Regions from separate parts of the Homo sapiens genome. Here region 2 is linked to region 1. The links are contacts of gene promoters, found by promoter capture Hi-C in blood cells and fetal thymus (Javierre and others, 2016). All regions are on one chromosome and are shown on one strand. Each heading gives the region's core, a stretch centred on a gene start or on the middle of the fragment in contact. The rest is flanking DNA. Distances are from core to core; before and after follow the strand shown.

Evidence for each region. The method cuts DNA at HindIII sites, captures the fragments that hold promoters and counts their contacts. A CHiCAGO score of 5 or more calls a contact.
Region 2: a fragment that was not itself captured here is called in contact with the fragment with the promoter of KCNF1 in region 1 in 1 of 17 cell types (M0 macrophages); the score reaches 5.5 in M0 macrophages.

What each region holds. Positions count from the first base shown.
Region 1 is chr2:10,908,403-10,916,045 of GRCh38, forward strand. KCNF1 (potassium voltage-gated channel modifier subfamily F member 1) reads left to right here and starts at 3,532. Exons shown (of 1, transcript NM_002236.5): 1 at 3,532-5,823. The coding sequence starts at 4,025. The coding sequence ends at 5,509. RefSeq lists an enhancer at 577-1,077. The HindIII fragment of the contact is 10,094 bases long and covers 1-6,051 here.
Region 2 is chr2:10,833,462-10,841,104 of GRCh38, forward strand. It overlaps a transcript of PDIA6 not described here. Among named protein-coding and RNA genes, the nearest start is that of PDIA6, 24 kb to the left of the region's middle. RefSeq lists enhancers at 1,804-2,304, 6,345-6,845. The HindIII fragment of the contact is 562 bases long and covers 3,635-4,196 here.

The sequences.
Region 1 (7,643 bases), core at 2,282-4,781:
ATATGTAAGTCCATGTCACCCATTTAACAGCCCGGGAAACTGAGGGGCACATGAATGCCAGCCTTCTGCTCCCCCATCTAAGGATACAGGGCTGATCCTCACAGAGCAGGATTTGTGTCTCTGCCTCTTCTCTTCCCTCCCCTGGCTTCTGGCTGCAGGCTGGTCTCGCACCTCCAGCCTTGACCTGCTATTTACAGCTGTTTCTTTCTCTTGCCCCTGTTGTCATTGGGCACTTGCTCTCCTGTGGGCTGTGTGCGGACATTCTCTCTGCTGGGCTTTGCATCTGCTGCCCCTCCCCTCCCACTTCTGCACCAGACCAGCTTTCTCCCCACTGGGCCTGGGATTTGCTGAATGGACTTGGAGTCAGAGTCAGCCTCTGGCTGCTATGACCTGATTCAAGCCGTATTTATTTTTCCACGTCTGATATTCTCTGTTATTTTCTAATACTCAATACGTTAATTTCACAGCCAGCTACTGAGCCACGACCTAAAGTATGAAGTGCTGACTTGTGGTCCAGATGCCTCCAGGGCCGCTGAGACCCTCCGGGGTCTGTTTCCAGCTGACTCCACCAGCCTCAGGCCTGCCAGCCTCACCTCCAAACCGTGTGGCCCTTTCAGCTGAGCAGGCAGGTGGCACTCAGACCTCCAGGCTCAGCTCACGCACTGGCTCTTCCGGGGGCCTGAGTCTCCAGCTTGTCATCACATCTTTCTAGATTCTAGATTTGTCCGCCTGCCATCCTCTCAGCCTGGGGTCAATAGTGTATTAACTATGATTTCTTATTTTCTGCATTCCTGATGACTGGCAATGTGGCCTCACAGACTGGAGAGACTGCCCCTCCCAGTGGGTGACATCCTTAGAGATTGCGAAAGGCTGGAGCGTATCTTTCACAGGCAAACCCACCAATTCCAGGCCCAGACCCCCAACTTCCCCTCATCAAACTCTCACACACCAAGGCAATATTTCCCTGCCCTAAATCATCCCAGACCAGGGACCAGGCAACTAGAGACCACCTCTGTAGTTCAAAGCCCACCAGAATTATCCCAAGGAGCCAATCCTGGACTCTTTCCTCTGTTCTGCCCTAACTTTTCCCCCAGGAAACCCCAATAGAGGGCCTGGCCTCGTTTTCCCCTCGCTCCTGCTTCTGCCTGGCCACACCTGGAATTTCCTCTGGCGTGTCCTCTTCTCTCAGGACATGTTAGTAATGCGTTCTTTCAATGACATTGATCTCTCTAAATCCCAGCGGTATAATTTTAATGCACCAGCCTCTCCTGGGCCTGCCCAGGTATCTGCAAACTCCCGGGTTCCACAGCACCTTGTATTTCATGACGATACAAAGGAGTAGCTATTGGGGCTCTATCTGCTGAGGGAGATTCATCAGACACCCCGATGCAAACCTGAGTGAGTGAAGGCTGGGCTTCTAGGCAAATGCAGCCCCTCCCTCTTCCAACCAGATGGCCGCCCCTCAGCGCCCCCTGTGGAGAAATTCAGGAAGCACCACTCTTGTATAATACATATACCCCTCTTGTTAAGGTCATTACCCCAAACTGTTAATTATTATTTACAAAAAACATATTATCTACTAGAATATGAACCCTGTCCCCACACCTAGGGTGGTGTGTGTATGTGTGTGTGTGTGCATTTGCACACATGTGCCATAAGAGCTCGATAAATATTTGAATAACTGAGTGAATGAATGGGTATTTAGAAGCCCATTAAGCTCAGACTAGGATGCAATTTGAACTTAACCCTGCAGGTACTCGGACAGCTGATAAGGGGAGTAGCATGCATAAGGATTGGAAGAGGAAGCTGGGGTGTGTGTAGGAGGTGGTGTGTAGCACTGTACTGGGGAGAAGAATAGGCCTCAGAACCCAGCAGGACAATGGTTAAATCCCAGCTCCACAGAGTGATCTCGGCAGGTTACCTGACATCTTGTTTCCTTAGGGGTTGCTGGGAAATTAAATGACAAAAATGCAAAGCACTCAGAGACTGCACTCCGATGCCCATGGAGAATAAGTGGCAACTCTTATTATTACTCAACCTTTCTGAGCCTCGATTTCCTACTCTGTAGTAGCATGTCATTGTCTGATGCTAAATGGAAATGAAGTAAAATTTGTAAAACGAAGTTTCACTAAATAATACTTCATGTGATGTATTCTAATATATTCTGTTTTATGCTAACTCATTAAAGAAAAAAGAATACTGTCAGTGACCCAGTAAATTGATTTCATAATCCATTAACGGACATGTCCTTAAGTTTTAAAAAACCCAGCCTACAGAATACATTTTTAAATAGACTTTATATTTTAGAGCACAATTCAACAGAAAGTACAGAGAATTCCCACATGCCCCCTGTCTCCACAGCTCTCCCCTGCGCATCAACATCTCACACAGGGTGGGACACTTGTCATGGTGGACCACCCCACATGGACACGTCATCATCGCCCAGCACCGAGTTTGCATTAACATTCGCTCCTGGTGGTGAACATTCTATGGATTTTGACCATTGCATAACGACACATATCCGCCATTATGGTACGTTTCACTGCCCTAAAAATCCTCTGCTCTGCCTATTCATTCTTCCCTCCAGAATATTTTTAACACGATCTCGAGGCCATAGATGATATCAGTAATTTGCAGTATTGATGATAGTGGTGAACCGGAGGAGAGAGACACTGTTAGGAAGCTGCTGTAGTGGTTCAGGTGAGTGAGGACAGAAGGACAGCTGTGGCTGCAAAGGCTGGAAGAGAGGAGGGTGTGGGACACTGGTCAGGAAGAGACAGGCCTTGGTCAAGGAGTGAGGAACGGGGAAGCAGGAGCCACTGGACCCTAGGGGTCTGGAAGCTAGTGGCCTTGGTGTGGGACTGCAGAGAGATAGGAGGTGCCAGACGGCAGGGACTTCAAGGCAGAATTGAAATCTGCTGAACAGCAGGCGTCGGTCAGCTGGGACAGCCGGAAAGCTCGGGATCAGGAGGCGGTCAAGCTGAGCTCTGCTCTCATTCCGCCGCGTGACCTTGGGCAAGTCCCTTCCCTTCTACAGGAGGCTGGACTAGATGTCCTCCTTGTACAGCGTTGCGGGGAAGGTGAGACAGTGCCACCAACACAGCAGGGCATTGCTGGGTCGGGGGGATGGGGCAGGAAACGCTTCAAGGATCAGGCAGGATTTTCCTCCCACCAGGAAAAGCCGGCGCGGGTCTAAGGCCGGAGGAGGGACCCAGACATAGGAGTCACCTTCTAAGGGGCTTCCTGGAGCACATTTTCCTGCCCAGCAACAGGCGGCAGCATTCTCTCCCCACTAATCCTCTCCAAACAGCAGTGAGAGAGAATGCCTGCCGCTTCAAGCCAGGTCGCAACCCCTCGGTGACCCGCTGCGCCCGAGGAGGGGCCGGCGGTGCGCGGTGGTGGCGGCGGGCGCGGCAGCTGTGCCCGTCTGCCCAAGGGTTAATCCGTCCCCTGCAGCTGCCGCGCGTGCCTTGCAGAATTTCACCAGAAGAGGGTACAGTTTGAAAAGCTCCTGACGTCAGGCTGGAATTCCTATTGTGTTTAGAAAAGGCTCGGGCAAAGCCAGCCCAAGTTCGCTCTCTGCACACCTCGAGCACCTCGCGGACGGCGTGGGTCCGCCAGCTCCGGGACCTGCCGCCGCTGCCTGCGCGCCCCGGGGCGGAGGACGGTGCCAGCCGCCCACGAGGAGACCCCGCTCCCGCAGGAGGCCGAGCTGAAGCGGCGGAGCGCGCCGCCAGCCAGCCGGGGTGAGTGCCCCGGGCGAGGCCGGCGGCCGCCAAAGCCCCCGCGGGCTCGCCCGGGCGCCCGGATGCCAGCCCCGAGCCCCGCCGCCGGGTGCATGCCTCCCCCGCGGCGCGCCCCCGCAGGCTGCTGCCCGCTGTGACCGCCCTTCCCCGCAGGCGGGCGCCGGCCAGGCTCTCCCCGAGATCAGCGCACGGGTGGCACCCGCCGGACCCCCAGCGGCAGCGGCGGCGGCGGCTGCAGGGGGCGCGGGGCGGAGGCTGCGAGGGCGCGCGCGGGGAGGATGGACGGGTCCGGGGAGCGCAGCCTCCCGGAGCCGGGCAGCCAGAGCTCCGCTGCCAGCGACGACATAGAGATAGTCGTCAACGTGGGGGGCGTGCGGCAGGTGCTGTACGGGGACCTCCTCAGTCAGTACCCTGAGACCCGGCTGGCGGAGCTCATCAACTGCTTGGCTGGGGGCTACGACACCATCTTCTCCCTGTGCGACGACTACGACCCCGGCAAGCGCGAGTTCTACTTTGACAGGGACCCGGACGCCTTCAAGTGTGTCATCGAGGTGTACTATTTCGGGGAGGTCCACATGAAGAAGGGCATCTGCCCCATCTGCTTCAAGAACGAGATGGACTTCTGGAAGGTGGACCTCAAGTTCCTGGACGACTGTTGCAAGAGCCACCTGAGCGAGAAGCGCGAGGAGCTGGAGGAGATCGCGCGCCGCGTGCAGCTCATCCTGGACGACCTGGGCGTGGACGCAGCCGAGGGCCGCTGGCGCCGCTGCCAGAAGTGCGTCTGGAAGTTCCTGGAGAAGCCCGAGTCGTCGTGCCCGGCGCGGGTGGTGGCCGTGCTCTCCTTCCTGCTCATCCTCGTCTCGTCCGTGGTCATGTGCATGGGCACCATCCCCGAGCTGCAGGTGCTGGACGCCGAGGGCAACCGCGTGGAGCACCCGACGCTGGAGAACGTGGAGACGGCGTGCATTGGCTGGTTCACCCTGGAGTACCTGCTGCGCCTCTTCTCGTCACCCAACAAGCTGCACTTCGCGCTGTCCTTCATGAACATTGTGGACGTGCTGGCCATCCTCCCCTTCTACGTGAGCCTCACGCTCACGCACCTGGGTGCCCGCATGATGGAGCTGACCAACGTGCAGCAGGCCGTGCAGGCGCTGCGGATCATGCGCATCGCGCGCATCTTCAAGCTGGCCCGCCACTCCTCGGGCCTGCAGACCCTCACCTATGCCCTCAAGCGCAGCTTCAAGGAACTGGGGCTGCTGCTCATGTACCTGGCAGTGGGTATCTTCGTCTTCTCTGCCCTGGGCTACACCATGGAGCAGAGCCATCCAGAGACCCTGTTTAAGAGCATCCCCCAGTCCTTCTGGTGGGCCATCATCACCATGACCACCGTCGGCTACGGCGACATCTACCCCAAGACCACGCTGGGCAAGCTCAACGCGGCCATCAGCTTCTTGTGTGGTGTCATCGCCATCGCCCTGCCCATCCACCCCATCATCAACAACTTTGTCAGGTACTACAACAAGCAGCGCGTCCTGGAGACCGCGGCCAAGCACGAGCTGGAGCTGATGGAACTCAACTCCAGCAGCGGGGGCGAGGGCAAGACCGGGGGCTCCCGCAGTGACCTGGACAACCTCCCTCCAGAGCCTGCGGGGAAGGAGGCGCCGAGCTGCAGCAGCCGGCTGAAGCTCTCCCACAGCGACACCTTCATCCCCCTCCTGACCGAGGAGAAGCACCACAGGACCCGGCTCCAGAGTTGCAAGTGACAGGAGGGCCCCTCAGGCAGAGATGGACCAGGCGGTGGACAGATGGGTAGATGTGGCAGGCATGTCATCGACAGCACAGAAGGGCTGTCCTGTGTCCCCCCAACCCTCCCCTGGACAGACTCTGAAGGCCCTCCCGGCACCTCTGCCAAGGCTGGGTAAGACTCCTCTATGTTGCCTGCTGTCCAGGAGCCCGGGAGGGAGGGGTGTGCAGGAGCCGCAGGGCCGTGTGGGACGAGTGGAGGCCGCGGCCTGGCTGGCACGAGAGCCCACGCCCGCTTCTGTATCTCCCTCAATAAAGCCTCCTGCTCTGTGCACCCTCCGTGTTGTAGGTTCTGTCACAGGCTGGCTGTCACCCCCAAGAGTAGCTCAGGCACACTTCAGTGCCAGGCCAGGAGGTAGGTGTGCAGCCGGGTGGTGGGGGAGTTATTTTTAGTGGGAACTAATTAAAGAAGGGCTCATAGTCAGGTTCGGCGCCAAGGAGCCTTACCACATTCCTGGAGGCTCTGCAGGCCGTGCTTCCCTGCTGCTTCCTTCTGGGGTAAAGCTTGCTCCCCCTGCAGGCCCAGGATGGGGGAGAGTTCACAGTGCACGCCCAGCAGCCTGCAGCATTTAGTTATCACGTGCACCGGGCCCTTTTCACAACCTCTTTCTATTCCTTCCATTGACCCTACTAGCTAGGTATCTCCATTTTACAGATGAGGAAACTGAGGCCCAAGGTCACACAGAGAAGGGAACAATCCCAGGTCTGATGATCCCAAAGCCCATGTGTTCTCTCTGACACCAGGTGGTCTTGGGACAGAGGCATCTGCTTGGGCTCATGATGAGACAGTCTTTGGACCAGGAGAGGGGCTGATCTTCCTTGGTGTGGGGGTGCCTGTCCTCCAGCCCATCTTTCTAGCCCTGATACCTTTGAGATAGCTGCTGAATGGATAAACCCGAGTGTGGATGCCCCTACCCGTGTCCTGGTGTCTCACTGAATCTCCTCTGAGAGCCCCGAGGGAACAGATCAAACAGATCTGGGTTCGAAGCCCAGGCAGTGAAGAGGAACCCTGAGATGCCTTTGAGCTTAAACATTTTTCTCTAAGGCCTCTCCTCCACCACTCCCTTACCAACTTTGTGACCGTAGGCCTGCTGATTCATCTCTCTGACCCTCATTCTGATCATCTGGTAAATGGGAATATAATATTTAATAAGTACGGCAGAGAATCGTGGCTTTTAGCATGGCACCTGGCACTTAGTAAGTGCTCAATAAATAGTAGCTGTTTCTATTACTCTGTGCTGGGAGGGAGGTGGGTTGCACGGTTGCCCACTCTGACCTCCACTGATCTGGGCTGGGCTTGTAGGTGGGGGGAGGTTGGGGGCAGGGCATTGTCACACTGTCCTTAGTCAAAGGCTAAGAGTTGGCCCCAGCAGGCCCCTTCTTCTGGGTTTCCATCTTTCCTGAAACCCAGAGCTGTGTCCTTGCTTCTCTTGCTAAGGCAGCTGGTGCAGTGGGAGGAGCCCTGCAGTGGGGCAAGTGTGTGGGACTAGATGGGGGAGAGGGAGGTGGTGGTCCCCAGTCTGCCACCATCTCGGGCCAATTTTTCCCCTCCTCTGGGCGTAGGTTTCCCTATACGTATAATAAGACTTCTCGAGGCCCCATCTAGATCCGACCTTCGAGGATTCGGAAGCCTTAGGCTGTGGATGCTCTGTGGTGGGGACTCTGGAGGGTGGGAGGCTGCCATGTTGTAGGGGGCTTGGAGTGGGAGGTCTTGGGAGAGAGTTAGGGTCTGTGGAGTGCAGGGCTTAGCTGTAGAGCTAAAAGTGATGAGAGGGCCCCAGGTAGAGAGGGGCCTGGCCAGGGGGTGCAAGGCCAGGTGGGGCAGGAGTGTCAGCCCTGGCCTGAAAGGGGCTGTCCTGTGTCCCCCAGCCCTCTCCCGAACAGAGGCCCTCCCAGGCAAGACTCTTGTGTGGCTTTCAGTCAGTGCCGTGCACCCCTCCCTCACACGTTTCTCCAGGAAAATGCTGGGTCAGGGCCAAAAGGCAGAGGAGTCAGGAGGCAGGGGCTGGGGCAGCGGGGACCCACTGCAAGGGGGAGAGGGGCTGCACGCCCTCCAGCTGGGAAAGAGGGGAGGAGGGTTGTGGAAGGTACAGT
Region 2 (7,643 bases), core at 2,666-5,165, 75 kb before region 1:
GTGGGGTAATAAGCCTCACAGCCAAGGGGAGTGGCCCCCAGAACCTCAAAAACCCACAGCGGGCTCATTCCCTGACTTCTGCCAGGTAGAGGCGGCTGGGCCCTCTCCTCAGAACATGTTTGAGCCCCTTCTCAGAAGTTTCCAGAGTGCCAGTATGGTTGGCACCAGCCTTGTAAGCCCCTATGAATAGAGACACATCCCTCTTATACCCATACACAGATTGGAACTCCCGGAGGCAGGGCCTGGATTCCAGGGCATGTACTTGCTGTATAGTGGGCTCTGCAGGGAGATGTATGAAGTTAAGTGGATGTGGACATCGAGCCTGGAAAGGTTAAATGACATCCCCAGGGCTGGAAGCCATCAAGTGTCTGGAAGTGGAGCTTGGAGCTCGAGGTGCCAAGACCCTGAAGTGGCAGCCAGTGTCTGGTTATTGGAAGCCCCAGACGCTTGTTTAGAGAAATCTTTGCCTCCTCCCAGGTCCCACCAGTGCTCTCTGTGTTTCTCTTATCTTTGGATGTTGCCACACGGAAGCGGAATTCTAAAATAATTTCCTCTCCCTTCCCCCATCCCCAGACTTCTGAAGAAGATTTAAACTGGGCATTAGGTGTTTTCTAAATACTGTTGCAAAGTCCCAACAGCTTCTACAGTGAGAGCAACGCAGATCTGGGGAAAGATCCCAGTGAATTTGTATCTTTCTTTGGGGTCTCAGCAGCAATTGCATGATTTCAAAAGGAGGCAGTGCCTCACTCTCCTTTCAGGCTGCGCTTCTGAGCAGAGACAAAAAAGGGAACCTCTCAGGCTGGATCAAAGGCGAGCCTCTTTCTATGTGGGCCACGGATGCTGCCTGCAGCAGTGTGCTTTGGAGAGAAAGACCCTCTCTGTGGAGAGGGAACATTCTGGACACGTGTGCCCTTCTCCTGTGAGGCTTCCCTCCCTCCCTGGGGCTGGCCACCCTCCCTCCCTCCTTCCACGGAGGCCTGGCCTCTCTGTGGCACTGCCCCTCACCCCTCTGGGCTGCAGTGACTCCCAGAGGTGGGATCTCATTGGTCCCTGAGCGCCTGGCAGGACTGACAGGGTGCTTAGTAAACCCTTGTGGCCTGGATGCAGGCCGAGGCTCCTGTGGCCTGGGAGGGTCCAGGTCCTTCTTTGTTATGAACACTAAGAGGCAGGTCTCCTCCCTTCCCTGCCTCAGACACACAAGGGACACTTGATGTGTTTGTGGAGTGAACTAATTTCTCTCCCTCCCTCCCTCCCTCCCTCCCTTCCTTCCCTCCTTCCTTCCTTCCTTCCTTCCTTCCTTCCTTCCTTCCTTCCGTTCTTTCTTTTGACAGAGTCTGCTCTGTTGCCCAGGATGGAGTGCAGTGGTGTGATCTTAGCTCACCGCAACCTCCGCCTCCCAAGTTCAAGAGATTCTCTTGCCTCAGCCTCCTTAGTAGCTGGGATTACAGGCACGCACCACCATGTCCGGCTAATTTTTTGTATTTTTAGTAGAGACAGGGTTTCACCATGTTGGCCAGGCTGGTCTCGAACTCCTGATCTCAAGCGATCCACCTGCCTCAGCCTCCCAAAGTGCTGGGATTACAGGCATGAGCCACTGTGCCTGGCGTAGAGTGAACTAATTTCATAGCGTGGGTTGATGAACATGAACAGGTGGGGCGGGCCTACAGCAAGGAGCAGCACCAGCGCCTGTGTGTGTACTGTGGCCGCTGCTCGGCCCCGGGCGGTGCACTTTACCTGAACCGTCCTTCCAGGCCTCCCAAGCCATCTGCAGGAAGTGCTGTTTCCATCCCAGGCCTGAGATGGTGGAAAGGCTGGGGACTCCAGGGACACAGGGCTGGCAGGCGGGTGAGGTGGGCAAGTACCCCCGGCAGTCGGGCTCCGGAGCCCGCCTTCTTGACCAGGCCGCTGGCAGTGAGCCAGCCGGGTTCCGTTTCCATCGCGGGCCTTATCCGGGGCGTATTCCTTCCAGGTGCGGCCTCCGGGGAAGCCCAGTCCCCAGCCTGGAGGTGACGAGGCCGGCGCACCCACCAGGGGTCGCTGCAGGCAAGAGCTGGAGGCCTGAAGGCAGGTGGGGCCCAGGGAGCCGGCCCGGCACACTCGGATACACAGCTTTAGGTGTGCCAGATCGGGACGATGTTTTAATAAAAGTAAAGCAGACATCTCCGACCCACGAGGAAACCCAGCCTGGGTTTGGATCCACCTCTGAGCTCCACCTTCACTCAGCTGCCAAATGGGGACAGTGGCTGTGGCCCTGTCTCCCTCATGGGACCGCCAGGGGATCCTATGAAATCACAATACTTAGAGAGGGGGCCGGGCGCGGTGGCTCACGCCTGTAACCCAGCACTTTAGGAGACCGAGGCGGGCGGATCATTTGAGGTCAGGAGTTCGAGACCTGCCTGGGCAACATAGTGAAATCCCGTCTCTACTAAAAATACAATAATTAGCTGGGCGTGGTGGCGGGCGCCTGTAATCCCAGCTACTCGGGAGGCTGAGTCAAGAGAATCACTTGAACCCGGGAAGCAGAGTTTGTAGTGAGCCAAGATCGAGCCACACTGCACTCCATCCTGGACAACAGGGCAAGACTCTGTCTCAAAAAAAAAAAAATACTTTCAGACCGTGGAGTACCTTGGTGCCTGAGATGATCCTATTGGCCTCACTAGGTGCCCGTGGGGGTGCCACCACCAGTGATGAAGGGGAAGGGAGATCAACCCCTACTTTTCCGAGGGTCTTTCCCATGTAAGAAATACAAGCTGAATCTTCCTGAAATTCAGCCACAGATCCCACACTCCCTTAAGGCACACTCAGGTCCTACGATGGCCTGCTGCAGACACTGGCAACGTCAGGCCTGGAGCATCCTTGTCTAGGATGGGTCTGGGGCTTTGGGCTCTGTGGTGTTATTTTATTATTTATTTATTTATTTATGTATCTATTTTTAGAGACGGAGTCTCACAAAGTTGCCCAGGCTGATCTCGAATTCCTGAACTCAAGCAGTCAGCCCGCTGTGGCCTCTCAAAGTGCTGAGATTAAAGGCATGAGCCACTGTGCCCGGCCTTCTGTGGTTTTAAATGAAACTTTTGCAGGCTTTTTTTTTTTTTTAATTAAGAGATCATTCGCATGCCATAGAATTCACTCTTTTAAATTGTCCAATTTGGTTGTTTTTAGCGTATTCACAAGTTTGTGTAACCCCCCCAGCAATTCCAGAACACTTCATCAGTCACCTCAAAAAGAAACCTGTGCCAATCTTCCCCTTCGCTTACCCCTGGCAACCACTGATCTACTTAACCTTTTCTTTATATTGTGTCTTTTCATTGCCGCTTGTGTTCTATGGGGATTAAAAAAAAATAGATGGCTTACTTCATGTGAGCAAGAAGGGACCTGTGTCTCAGGGTAGCAGACAGGGTTATGGGGACTCCTTGGGGTTAGAACGTGGGGTCCCATGCCTCAACCCTCTCTGATGAGCTGTGTGAGCACAGAGGAATGAGAACATCTTTCTGGCTTTTTGTCTTCTCATTCTGTTTCATTCTCATTCATGATGGTTAACAGTGATGATACTTGTCCCACTTACAGCAAGGAAATCCCACGTCTCCTAAACAACAGAACCCCAAATCTGCCTGGGCTTGATGCTGGGAGGAGAAGCTTCCAGGGGCAGCAGGATCAAGGAGCTGGCTCTGTCCCTGCCTCTGTTCTCACTGTCACCCCTCTCTGTTTCCCATGAGTGCGGCCCCCAGCAAGCTGGGCCTGTGTGCTGCTCCCATGGCGGCCACGGCCCCCTTACCCAGGACACCACCAGCCCAGCAGGGAGGGGCTGACGTCCTCACAAAGACTTACTAAATATTCAAGGAGGCGACGGGGAAAAGAGAGCACGAAACACAGCATTTAGTTCCCTGAAGAATTAGAAGCAGTTTGCAAAGATGCACTCAATATGACAAGATTAAAAAACATACGTGAGGAAATCAGAGAGGAATAAAAATGAGGGGGAGAAAAAAATAAGATGAAGCCAGGGAGAGGTTGGTATGGAAACTCCAGATGGTGATTTAAGGAGCACTTATGCAGCACACTTACCACGATCCGAGCGCCGTGCAAGTATCATCAACTCATTTGATCCTCGGGACACTTTGGAGGCAGGGGCTGTGATTATCCTCATTTTGCAGTCAGAAAAGCCCAGGCACAGAATTGCAGCTTGTTCAGGGGCTCCAAGCTTCTAGGTGGCAGAGCTGGGTCTCAAGCCTGGGCAGCCTGGTGTGCAAGTTCATGCCACCCCTGCTGCTTTTTCATGATATCACATGAACGCACTGGGGGTGGGCAGGGGAGCCCGGGCATGAGCAGAATAAGCAGGGAATATCTTTGTCATCTTGGATCTTGTTCCAGAAATCATAGGTATTTTGCATTTTTCCCCATGATGTTTCTATATTTGTGCAAGTGTGTTGAAAATTAGGTTGTGTGTGTGTGTGTGTGTGTGTGTGCGCGCGCACGCAGGCACTCTGTCTGAGCTTCAGCTGAGGCCCTGAGGGGTTCTGAAGAAAGCACAAGGTGTCAGGTAGCCCATCTCTGCCTGGGCGGTTGAGAGCTGTTCTACCAGCATGGGCCCTCACCCACTCCAGGGAGAATAAGGCAGGGTGAGAGTTTGGGGAGCTTGAGGAGGCTGGTGCAGGGACTGCTCTGGAGAGGCTGCCTGTGCACTAGTCTCTCCCAAGTCTGGGGGAGGCATTTGAGGGAACTGTCTGGATAGTTGTGTGTGTCTTTGGAATTGGAGGGACCCAGGGACTGGTGTCTGAGCCCCTAGAAAATTCTCGTGATGAGAGAATGTTGGCTAAAAGGCTGGCGTTGGGCGCTTCCTTCATTCATTCATTCATATGACCCTCAACAAACATTTACTGAATGTTTGATTGTGTGTTCTAGGTGCCAGGGATGCACCTGTGGACCACACAGATTGCCCCGTGACCTTACATTCTAGTAATGAGGGTAACAGCTTCAGAGGGACCCTGCCCATGAGTTGGGGGCAAGGGGCCTGCAGGTGAGGAGTGGGCTGCAGCGGGCTCTGATTGGGCAGCTGGAAGAGGGCCCGGGTCTGTGGCCGGATCCCTGCACTCCGCATGCCCCAAGATGGTGGACGTTTGACACCATTCATTGGTTACCTACTGTGTACATATAGTATCTGTAATCTGCGTTCTCCCTGAAGGTAGAGATTATAGCCCCACTTTGCAGAGGAAAGCAGTGGCTCAGAAAGTGCCGGGGGTGGGTGTTGAGGTCCACCCAGGGGTTCTTTTCCTCAGAGCTGGCCACTCTCTTGCCACTCTGATGAGTTTCTCTTGGTTTTCAAAAATGGAGCAGGCAGGAATGGAACCTCTCTGAGCTCCATCTTTGCTGCAATCTGACACACGTCGTGAGTTATGTCAATTTTCCAGAGGCTCCAGGCAAGAACAGCTCCTCGTGGAGACTTCTCAGGCTTATTAAGGAGTCAGATCTGGGTGGCAGCAGCAAGGAAGCAGCTCTAAGCATGTTCTGGAATCATTCATAGGCTTTTATTTTCTGAGCTGTTCCCAAGAGTGTAACCAAATGCTAATACCATTGACATTGTTTTCTTAATGATTACTTTGGCTTGTATTAGGAAACAGCTTAATTAGCATTAATTAGAGTGTTCTCTCTACAGGACACATCTCCCTCAAAGCAAGGTCTCCTTAGTTTACTCATTTGCAGGGGGAGAACTGTCACTGACTGAGGTTAAGGGTGTGGCCCAAGGACACAGGAGGTGACAAACTGGGGAACAAAGCTGTCAGTCTGTTCAGGCTGCTGTAAAAAAATCACCACAGATTGGGTGGCTTAAAAACAGCAAAAATTTATTTCTCATAGTCTGGAGGCTGGGAAATCCAAAGATGAGAGCGCCTGCGGATCTGGTGTCTGGTGAGGACCCATTTCTTGGGTCTTCTCAATGCATGCTCACACAGTGGAAGCGGCAAGGCAGCTCTCCATGGCCTCTTGTGTAAGGGCACGGATCCCGTCAACCACTTCTCAAAGACCCCACCTCCCAATACCATCACACTGGGCATTAGGATCTAATGCATGGATTTTGGGGAGACACAAACACTCAGTCTATGGCAAAAGCTCTAACCACAGCCCCTAGTCCTGTGTTCTCTACATTTGACTGTGCTGCTTCTCAGAGAGCAGGACTTATCATCAGAGAACCTTCCAGTTTCTTGCTCTTCTGCTGGAGAGGCCTGTGTGGACGTTCCCCTTGCCAGGGCCAGCCTTGTCCATCGGAGGAGTCGCACAGGGCCACCCCAGGGTTCAGTAGGAAGTGACTTCATTCAGCGGCAGGCCTGACCGTACAGCATTTTCCACAGCGTTGATGAGAAAGGACAAAGGTGCTGAAGTTTATGAAGAAAACCCACAAGATCCAGGGTTTCTTTCAGGTGGTTGTTATTTCTGAAAATCTGAATTTTTAAAATGCTGGGTATGTAATTACCGTATTCTGTAGATTTGTACTCGAATAAAGGCTGCAACATCAACAGTCAGTCAACAAATACTCGCTGAGCCCCTCCTGTGTGCCGGGCACTGTCCTTGGTGCTGGAGATGCTAGGCAGTGCCTGGTCCTGGTCTCAGGGTTTAACGCTGCCGAGGGTGGAGTGGGGAGCAGACACAGAACAGACAGCCATGACAATTCTAGGTACAGGTGCATGCGGGGAGGATAACAACAGGAGGCCATGTGACAGCGGGTGACCAGGAGGGGGCCTTAGCCAGTAGTTGGTCAGGGAACGCCTCCCCGAGGGGAGAGGCAGAGCAGAGGCTCACATGATGAGGTGGTGGCAGCAGATGCCCTGGGGGATTCAGGCCAGGTCCAAAGAGTGGCCCAAAAAAGGCCCTGGGGCGGGGATGCTGTTGGGCTCGGAGCCTAGCGAGCAAGGGGAGACGCAGGTCCAGGGTGAGTGTGGGAAGGGGCAGGGCAGAGCACCACGGGGCAGAGCGTGGATTTCACCCTGGCTGAGAAGTCTCTGGAGGGTTTTAAGCAGGGTGCTGTGGAAGGAGACTGTAGATGGATGGGCGTGGAGGCAGTGAGATGGCTTAGGGGTTGCTCTGTTGCAAAAAAAATCAGGAGGACAAGAGAGACCTCGGGGTAAAGCAGGAGATCACAGGCAGCTTGTTTCCCCCCCCCCTTTTAATTTCTATTTCTCTTTTCTTTCTTTAATATCCCACCTCAGCTGGACTGGGACAGATGAGAGTTATGGTGAGTTAAATTAGGGCCATGTGTTAGTCAGGGACTAGGCAGGAGACAGAAACCACACCGGTACTTTGAACAGGGAAAAGGTAACAGGGAAAATGACTCATCAACAAGCACAAAGGGTCTGGTATTATGGGTTGAATTGTGTCCCTGAGAAAGACATGTTGAAGTCCTAACCCCGATACCTGTGAATGTGACCTTATTTGAAAATAGGATCTTTGCAGATGTAATCAAAGGCAGGCTTTGTCCAATATGACCAGTGTCCTTGTAGGAAGAGGGACATTTGCATGCAGACACACAGGGAGAAGATGGCCATGGAATGCAGAGGGAGAGAGTGGAGTGAAGCCACTGCAAGCCATCAGTGGAAGAGGCCAGGAGGATCCCCGGGGTCTTAGAGGGAGCAGGGCACTGCTGACACCTTGATTTC